Regions from separate parts of the Homo sapiens genome. Here region 2 is linked to region 1. The links are contacts of gene promoters, found by promoter capture Hi-C in blood cells and fetal thymus (Javierre and others, 2016). All regions are on one chromosome and are shown on one strand. Each heading gives the region's core, a stretch centred on a gene start or on the middle of the fragment in contact. The rest is flanking DNA. Distances are from core to core; before and after follow the strand shown.

What was found. Contacts are between HindIII fragments. The CHiCAGO score rates a contact against its expected background, and 5 or more counts as called.
Region 2: a fragment that was not itself captured here is called in contact with the fragment with the promoter of CARD18 in region 1 in 1 of 17 cell types (neutrophils); the score reaches 6.7 in neutrophils.

What each region holds. Positions count from the first base shown.
Region 1 is chr11:105,136,708-105,141,782 of GRCh38, forward strand. It overlaps CARD18 (caspase recruitment domain family member 18), which reads right to left and starts at 3,062. Exons shown (of 3, transcript NM_021571.4): 1 at 3,013-3,062; 2 at 2,105-2,371; 3 at 1,007-1,391. The coding sequence starts at 3,019. The coding sequence ends at 2,106. The HindIII fragment of the contact is 11,660 bases long and covers 1-4,388 here.
Region 2 is chr11:105,296,942-105,302,016 of GRCh38, forward strand. All of the region lies in intron 2 of LOC105369468 (a long non-coding RNA gene), which reads right to left. Among named protein-coding and RNA genes, the nearest start is that of CARD18, 160 kb to the left of the region's middle. RefSeq lists an enhancer at 1-1,198. The HindIII fragment of the contact is 1,658 bases long and covers 2,012-3,669 here.

The DNA of each region.
Region 1 (5,075 bases), core at 1,812-4,311:
AAGACAAGAAGGAGCAAGTCACATTTTACATGGAGGGCAACAGGCAAAGAGAGAGAGCTTGTGTAGGGAAACTCCCATTTTTAAAACCATCAGATTTCATGAGACTTATTCACTGTTACAAGAGCAGCATAGGAAAGACCTGTCCCCGTGATTCAGTTATCTCCCGCAGGGTCCCTGCCACAACACGTGGTAATTATGGGAGCTACAAGATGAGATTTGGGTGGGGACACAGAGACAAACAATATCACCCTCAAAATGTGTTTTCTCAAATAAACCAGCTGATTGCAAATGAGAATAGCCCTAACCTTAATCACTTATCTCAAATAAACACTTCCGGTCAGTGGCATATACCTCTTCTGTAGAAGAAAGTAACAAACATTCCCATTTACTGTATTTGGTGTCAACCTATAATAATTATTTTCTCCGTAATTTATGGCTGACAAATTCAGAAAGGAGAGGAATCACATTAAGTTTTATTTTAGTTTGCTAAAGAGCTTGGAAAAAGTGCACAAACCTAAAAAATTCAGGAAATTCTTTTGGCCTTTGTTCCTGGCACCCAATGCTTTGTTAGCACCTATGCCAGAAATTTTAGAAATTGACATGAGCTAACAAATTAGAAGACATCCTGAGGCATCTAGAAGACAATGCTTCATTATTTAACACTATATACACAGGGAAAAGACAGCTTAAGCATAATTAATAGCCAGTGTTTTGCTCTGAAGGGTGCAAAGCGATGACATGCCATCACACTATCTTGACTCCACAAATCTCCATTCCTCAGACATTAAGTCATATCTTGTTTCACCCTGCCCATGTGGACTTGAAATGCTATCAGTGCTTTTATGAACAGTTTTTTTGTGGAAGCCTGATGTCTGGCAATGGAGTATCTGCCATGGATTTTTCTCTATTATTTTCCCAGAAAGGAAGTTGTGTTTATTTTGTTGAGTAATTGTCATAGACCTGGGTCTGAACAACTAGATGAGAACATTACAAAGAAGCAACGCTATTTAAAATTCTGAGCTGGGACTTCATTTTATTCCCATCACAGCAGACTCTCAGTGCTAAAAGCACCAAAGTAAGCTGTACATGTCTCTACAGGATTGCAAAGGAACTAAACAGAAAGGAAGGGAAAGGGAGGGACTTTCTTAATTACATTACAATCATCATGACCTTCATTATTATTGATGAATTATCCTCTGTTGGTATGAGGAGAGAAAGAATAAGAAGAAAGTAATATGAGAGAATGAAAGATTTATTGGAAATTGATGAAATTAATCAGGTTTGAAAAAAGCACTGTTGTTTTGTTTTGTTTTTTTCTTTCACGAGAATATCTTCTCCCTTGGAAGAAGCTCTGGGAAGTCTCTGAAGTGCTCCAGAGTTCCATCTTCTCTCTGTGGAGGGAGAAAAGTGGTATTGGAATGGGCCAGCTCAGATACAAGAGCCTGCATCAGGGCTCTTAGGAGGCCTAGAAATACAAAGGGATAGGCTACAGAGAATGGTCTGTAGACTAGCCCCATGCAAGTAGACCATATTACACAAAAGAAAAGGCAAAGGAGATGACTTCCAACGAGAATCCATATATAATTTCATGCAAATATAATTATTTAGTGCATATTTAATTTTATATACACACTCAATTTATTCTTTGACAATTCCATCATCATTGTATATTCTGAAAAGTACTTAATAGGGAGATGGGGTAAGAGCAGGGTGGTAGGTACAAAAAGAGCTTATACCTTCTCTTCTAATAAATACATGGGCTTCTTAGGCTCAAGAGGGAGTGATATTGTACATTGCTCCCCAGGACCATTAAAAGATTCAGGATAAAACATCTAGGCTCTTTAAATGAACTACAGTAATGATCTACCACCTACATAGAATTAGAGATGAGCTGTGGTCAGCAGGGAGTACTGAGAGAACAGGTACAAGGGACACAAAAACGTAGACAGAAGAGACATAAGCTAGAGCCATGCATAAAGGAATGGAGTCTGAGGCTAAAATGATAGGAACCCTATTATCAACTGACAAGACAAGTGAAGAAAATCATAACTGAATTCAAGATACAGGGCCTATTTGGACATTAGGTTGAATCATTCCACCTTACCTTAGTGCAAACCCATCTTTGAGGCAAGTTGAGGGTCTTCTTCACAGAGATGCTTGATAAATTTGCAGCAAGACTTGGGTCCTTTTCCAGTAACAAGGTCAATCAAGACTCGAGCCTTATCCATGACAGTGTCATTTTCATCTCTCACTTTGTTCATGTCTTCCTGGCTAATAACTTCATCCTCTAATAGGCAATCCAGCAAGGCATTTATTGTGCCTGCACCCACTGAATGGATAAAAATTCTTCTCTTTTTACGCAAGAGTTGGTCTGTTGGAAGCACAAAGATTCCTCAAATAATGAACATGACACAATTTCCCTCTCAATTTACCAACAGGGTAACAATCATTTAAACATTTCTCTCCACAAGTACAGTAATCCCAAGGAACGGTCTTATACCTTTGCATTTACTCCACGTACTTCCTTCTGATTCTAGCATTACCTACATATGCTCACTGAGTGACCTGGGAAACTTGACTTCATGATTTTTCTGTGAATCTCCTAAAAATCAGAAGTCATTCTATTCTGACACATCCCAGTTTCTTGAATTTTGAAGGGAATTGACAGTTTCATGAATTTTGAAGGGAATTGACTGTTTCCTTTGAGAACAACAGCTACTGATACCCATCCTGTGCCCATTCTCATCCTGAACTACATAACTCTTCAAATGTGGACAACACTAGCAAAATTATAGCAGATACCAGTAGGATCCCAGATTCTTCCTGGCCTTTATCTGTTCCTTCAAAAACGCTGTGCAAGTCTGGGCATCTTCCCACCCTGCCTCTCCCTTCTTCTTTCTCTCTCCACCCCAAGGCTGCCCACACAAACCTTCACAAAGCCTAATGAGAAAGGCAGTCCTTTCCCAAACTAATTCCTCCCTAAGACCTATCCTCTTACTGGGGAAGACTCACCAGCCATGGCTCCTCACGTTGGCACTTGCAATGTGTGTTACACTTGCAATGACAGGCAAGGTAGCTCTATCCTTTTAGGCAGGGCGTGTACACAGATCAATGAACAATACTTACACCTACACATGTGTATTTATAATTATTGCCCAAGAAGCTGTTAACTATTGTCATTTCCCAAGGTATTTTTACACAATTGAATCTCAGATTGTAGCATGAACTGTGCCCATAAGAAAATTGCTTTACCATTCCTTGGTGGGTGAGAAACAAGAATAGGAGAGAATTGAGAAGGCACACACAGAGCTAAACACATGCAGTAAACAATCTTTAATTCACTGAGATTTAAATGGAAAGTAAAATCACAGTATAGGGTAGTTGTGCCACCTAAATCAAGTACTAAGAGTTCCTTTTTTAAATTGTGGTAAAATACACATAATATAAAATTTACCATCTTAGCCATTTTACAGTATCCAGTTCAGTGGCATTAAGTACATTCACATTGCTGTGTAGCCATCAATATCATCCAACTGTAGTTGTTTTCATTTTGGGAAATTGAAACTCTATACTCCTTAAACAGTAACTCTCTATCCTTTCCTTCCATCAGTCCCTGGCAACTAACATTGTACTTTCTGTCTTTATGAATTTGACTTCTCTAGGTATCTCATGTAAGTAGAATTATACAGTATTCATTTTTTGATGCCTGACTTATTTCACTTAGTGTAATGTCCTCGGTGTTTATTCATGTTGTGGCATGGGTCACAATTTCCTTTCTTTCTGAAGTTGAATAATACTCCATTCTATGTATGTACCACATTTTAGTTTACCCATTCTTCATTGAGCACAAATTTCTTCCCTTTTGCTATTGTAAATAACACTGCTATGAACATGGTATACAAATATGTTTTTGAGATTCTGCTGTCAATTATTTGAATATATACCCAGAAGTGGAACTGACAAATCATAGAGTAATTCTATTTCATTTTGTTTTGTGAAATCGGTATGCTGTTTTCCATAGCAGCTGCACTGTATTACATTCCCACATATAAAGCAGAAGCGTTCCAGTTTTTCCATGTCCTCACCAATACATATTATTTTTCTGTTCTTTTGATAATAGCCATCCTAATGGGTGTGAGATGGACTAAGACTTCTTACCTTCCTTTCATTGTTTTTTACCTAAGCTCTAGGCAGTCTCCAGACGCAGAAATGGTGTATGAAGCAGTTTTGCTATTTGGAATAAAAGTGCTTTGTTACGTAAGGCTCTTTTTCTTCAGATGGCACCATTTTAAGTAACACTGTATTACAAAGATTAAGGGCACAGACTCTGAAGCCAGAATGGTTGGATCCATATTTTAACTGCTGATCTTAGGAAAGGAAATTAACCAAGCTTTAGTCTTCCCATCTGCCAGATAGGTTTGATGATAATTCCTACCTTGCAGTTTTATTGCAAGTATTTAATGAACAAATATAAGTCATTAAAATAGCCCCTGGCATAAAGGAAGCACCTCAATTATTATATATGTCCATGTAAAATCCCCTATTCATCTCATCAATTCATTCAACATAAATATTCAGCATAGTTATTTACTGAGACCCAAGTCTATGTGCCATACATTATTATAGATGCTGGGGATGTAGTAATGACCAAAAACAGACAAAAATTCCTACCCTATTAGAAGTTGTATGATAGTAGGAGAGACACATATACTCATTAAATGTATACAAAATATTTTAAGAGTTCTTTAAAGAAAAATATTCTCAGAAGATTGGGGGAATCACATCTTTGGTAAAATATTTGTATTAGCTTATATATGTGACATAATTTGATAAATATTTAAAATCTGGGCAAGGTGCTACAGCTTATGTGCCCATGGGCCCAGGAATACACCAAATGAGGTGAATTGGAGAGGGGAGGCTGTGCCTATCTGGTAAGGGTAGTCCTCTCTGAAGGGGCAGGGCTCCTCAGACCCAACTAATTTTGGCTAAGAGAATGAAAATTCAGTTTACTTTTTCATTTTAAGGGTACTTTATCTCTAATTTTAAAAATACTTTCAGTTGGTTTACTATTGTTT
Region 2 (5,075 bases), core at 1,591-4,090, 160 kb after region 1:
CCTCTTGTGCTTCCTGGGTGAGACGACGCCCCACCCTGCTTCTACTCCTGCTCTGTGGGCTGCACCCACTGCCTACGCAGTCCCAATGAGATGAACAGGGTACCTCAGTTGGAAATGCAGAAATTACCCACCTTCTGCGTTGGTCTCGCTGACAGCTGCAGACAGGAGCTGTTCCTATTCAGCCATCTTGCCACCAGGCCCTGTTTTAAACTTCTTAACGATTATCTGTGGGCTTTCACTTGGCAAATGAGAGAAATGTACTATAAGAGTATTACTCAAGTAATATGTTCCAATTAGCGGGTTACAAAGTAAATTTATGTGTTCATAGACAGTGAGAAAAATAAAAATAAAATAGAATAAATATTAGTGTGTTGCCCATGAAAAGGTACTTGTCTCACAAAGCTCTAATTTCAGTTTTGAATATAAATTCATCTACGTAGTGGGATGCAATAACAAATATATCTCAATATTAATTTATCATAGTTTCAAAGTGTGAAAGATAGAAACCTAACATTTCTTGATTTCCATTTAGTCCTCTCCTATTGTGTTGTGTGAAAATTATTTTAAAAACAGACCTATAAAATGGAATTCAGATAAGATGATTCATATGAACTTTTCTACCTCATTATTACTCATGTTAGAAAATTAGTCAAAATCATCTTTTTGAAAAGGCGTCAGGGAAAAATTACTCTCTACAGAGATAATAGTATTTCCTGTTATTTTTGTCAGCAGTGACTCAGAGATCAGTTGAAAAATTCGAGAAGACCAGGGGATGATAAAGAGATCTTAAAAGCATCTTTGTTTTATGACTAAAAAGTGTGGCACATAACCCAGAGAGATTTTTCTTAGTTTTCTTACTTAGATTTAACCCTCTAATGAGACCTTTGATCTGAAAAAGAAAAATCCAGATCAATTAATACAAATGACAAAAATGTCCCTTGCTTTGTGTGTAATTTCTTTTAAGAAAAGTAATAAATATTCACTATAAAATTTTTAAATTCAAGACTAATGAGAATAAAATAAGCCCACAAGCAAAATAATTACCTTAAAATTACAAAAACAACATTTCTAAAATTAGATACAAATACTGCAGAAAAGCATAAGGAAAAAAACATTTGAAAACTACCTTTATACTAATGAGAATATTTTAATGAATTCATTAAATTGGGGGTAGGGAATCTCTACTCTTCCTTAAGTAAATATTCAAATATTTATGTCCTTGCATAAGTGGACTTTCAATATGTTAAGGTGAAAAAGGTCAGGGACCAAGATCCTAGAACTGTTTGTTAGATTGAATCAAAACTGTATAAATCAAAGAAAAGCATATGTTTGTGGTAACAACATTTAGGGCTGCTTAATCACAGACGTGGGCTGAATACAGAGGCCCTAGCTGAGGAAGTAGAACAGATAGTTGGAGCTATCACATGGGGCAATGCTATGAAGACTCAAGATGAAGGCCAGGCCTCAGCATATCTCTCTGCAGAAGATGACAGGCACAGACATAAGATCTGAAGCTGATCATTACTTTCCCACAAGGATTAGAGAGAAGCTGTGAGGAGAACGCTGAGTGGATTTGTAGGCTGCCCAGGTGGGGTGCTGTCACTAAGGGAAGACAAGAATGAAGGAATCCTACCAATGGCAGCTGGATTAGCAGCTGTGAAGTCCAGTAAGCAGACACTTCAGACCAAAGGATTTCTCCCAGGGGTGAATACAAGGCCTGACTACAAGAGTTCTTCATAAGACTCAAAGGTTTGCAGATCATTGAGAGCCTGGCCACTATCTGGAGAGTTCACTGGCCCCCAGGAGAGTTTGGTGGAGAGGATGAATGGGCCTGTGCGGTGGCATTTTACTCTGAAGTTATGTTTTCCCCTGCTCTCTGCTTCACAGAGGAGTCCTGGCCTTTGGGAGGTGCTATGATTCATCCTCTGGGATCTTAAACTCTACCTAGATTCAAGTCATGTACACAGAAAAAAATAAAAGTGTCAACTCTCACAACTCTGTTCAGGAGAGAAGCTTTATCTGACCCCTGGGACAGGACATAGCCAAAGACACACAATACTAAAAATAGGGGAATTGGTGAGCGGCCGGAGCAGCACTCCATCAGTCAGCATTCAAATAGTGTTTTATAATGTTGTTGATTAATTCTATAATTATATACTTATGTAAACTATGGAATATACCTACTTAGAATATGAAATATGAGAATACTTATATGGAAAATGGTTAAGTAAATGGGCTCCGGAGTTAGAAAAATCTAGGCTCCAAATCTGTTTTTTTTATTTATTTACTTGGTAATTTTTCTGAATACTATTAAATTATTTATAAAAACGCAAAATACCTACCTCAAAGTGTTGCTTCAAGGATTTAATAAAATAATGTATGTAACAGTGGTTTGCACAAAATATATATGTGTATACTCATTAAATTGTCTCTATTAAAACTAATAATAGAAGCAAAATTATTGCTATTGTGGGACCAAACAGTAAGATTCAGAGAATTGAATATAGATAAAATGCAGAGGCTAGCTGGACTAAAATCTTGACTGGTTTATGAATGCCAGAACCTATGATTAAAAATATACTAAATGGTTGATTTGATTTAATCACATTTAAAACCAAAGTTAATGTATAGATGACTGAGTACCATGTACCAATGATAATACAGATGTGCCATTCGGATAGTCTAAAAAGTAATTTGTATTAACTCTTAAGTAGTTATTTAATGTAATCTCCTAAATGTCTAATTCACAATAGCAAAGACATGGAACCAACCCAAATGTCCATAAATGATAGACTGGATAAAGAAAATGTGGTACATATACACCATGGAATACTATACAGCCATAAAAAGGAATAAGATCATGTCCTTTGCAGGGACATGGATGAAGCTGGAAGCTGTCATCCTCAGCAGACTAACCCAGTAACAGAAAAGCAAACACCACATGTTCTCACTCACAAGTGGGAGCTGAAGAATGAGAAAACATGGACACAGATGGAAACAGGGAGGGGAAAACACACACACCAGGGCCTTTCAGGGGCAGGGATCAAGGGGAAGGAGAGCATCAGCAACTAATGTATGTGGGGCTTAAAACCTAGGTGACAGGTTGATAGGTGCAGCAAACCACCATGGCACACGTATACCTATGTAACACACCTGCATGTTCTGCACATGTATCCCGGAACTTAAAGTAACAAAAAAAAAATAATGAGGTCATTTAAAATGTAATAAGTCCAAAGTGAGAGGGATTTCATTGTAGGTATAGCAACTCAGTCCTATAAGAAGTGTTTGGGATAAAAAATTCATTGCAACACATGAGATCATTATTTTTGTAATGTATGGATTCCTGTAATGCATGGATTGCATTATTCACTGCAATCAGTGAGATCATTAGTGCTGTACATTCCGATACCACGAAGGCACTGCATCACATCCAAGGTCACAGATATTTCTTAAAATCCAGTGAGGCCATAAAATGAGTTCCAAACTTTCTTATACTCTGAATACTTGTCCCCAAACCTTGAGATCACTCAAAGGAGAAGACTAAGAATAAGGCTTTTGAGGAAGGTAGAAAAGGATGGCCTAAATTTCCCTTTAGAGCGTTAGCAGTACAGGCAGGAGGATTATGAGGAAGAAGCATTAGGTGAAGTTTAAAGTCACTCTACAAGGTCAAGCTTAAAACTGGCTGACAGACCTCAGCCTACTGGAATGAAGGACCCTGGATTAGTCTCTGTCAGGTCTAGACTGAGTGCCTCTCATTGCCAATTCGAAAGTGAAGTCCCAAGTCCTAGTGCAGGCTCTGACCTCTATTATTTATGCCATGCCACTTAATTACCTTGAGCCTTAATTTTCTGATTTTAAAATCCAAGGTTAATATGTATTTGATCAACTCACTAGATTGATATATGTTGATAACATTAGGTTAGCATGGTTCACCCAGGTTATATAAATTCTTTTACAATTGGAATAGAATTCAGACAACATGAAAGAAATTACTATTCAAAGTATTCACCCTGAAGAAAAAGCAAACTATGATGCAAGCTACAAAGGTATACTGTTTAGTAGTTTGAAAAGGAAAGTAAACACGATTTAATTGGAAAATGAAGAATAGCCTATTAAGAGAATGGGGAAGGCCCATGTAAGGAAATTGTCCTCTTAGGGGTTTACACTATACTGATTTTAAGGTCACATTAACACTAAAACCCAATCATGAAGTCACTTTCTTAAATGTCTACTGTGATTCTAGCATTACCTTTAGTGCCAAAATAATAGACATAGCTCCCATATTCAAAGAGGTATCTGCATGGCTGTAATAATAAAGGGCAAATAATACAAAGGGGATAAAAATGAACTCCATGTTCTGGGAGAGGTCCCATTAGAAACATTTTGCTGGTCAGCTTTGCAAATCAGGCATCTCCCCCAGAATCCTGCATATGCAACTGTGTGATGCTTCTAACAAAGTGACTGTTCGCCAGTCATTTTGTGGTTCTTTGGTACCACTATTCCTGTTATGTTCCCTAGTTTTAAGCTGTTAATGTATTTATTTTTTTCCATTATGATAAAATACCCATAATATAACATTTATGATTTTAACAATTTGAAAATGTAAACTTTGGTGGCATTTAATACATTCACAATGTTGTGTAATCATCACCAATACCTACTTCAAGAACATCCTCATCCTAAAGTAAACTATGTACTCATTACACAGGACTTCATTGTTCTTTCTTCTCTCAGTCACTGGTAACTACCAATCTGCTTTGTATACTTTAGATTTTTATGTAAATGAAATCATACAATATGTGGCCATTGAATTTAGCTTCTTTCACTTAGCCTACTGTTTTCATTCTTCATCCATGTTTTTGTGACAGAAATATTCCACTGTGCATATGTGTATGTGTGCATGTGCACACTCACCCACAGTGCACACACCATGTTTTGTTGCATGCACACATCACATTTTGTTTATCCATTAATCAACTGATGGACATTTGAGTTGTTTCTACCTGTTTACTGTTGCAAATAATCCCGCCATGGATACATGTACAAAGCTATATTCAAAAAAGCTGTTATCATTT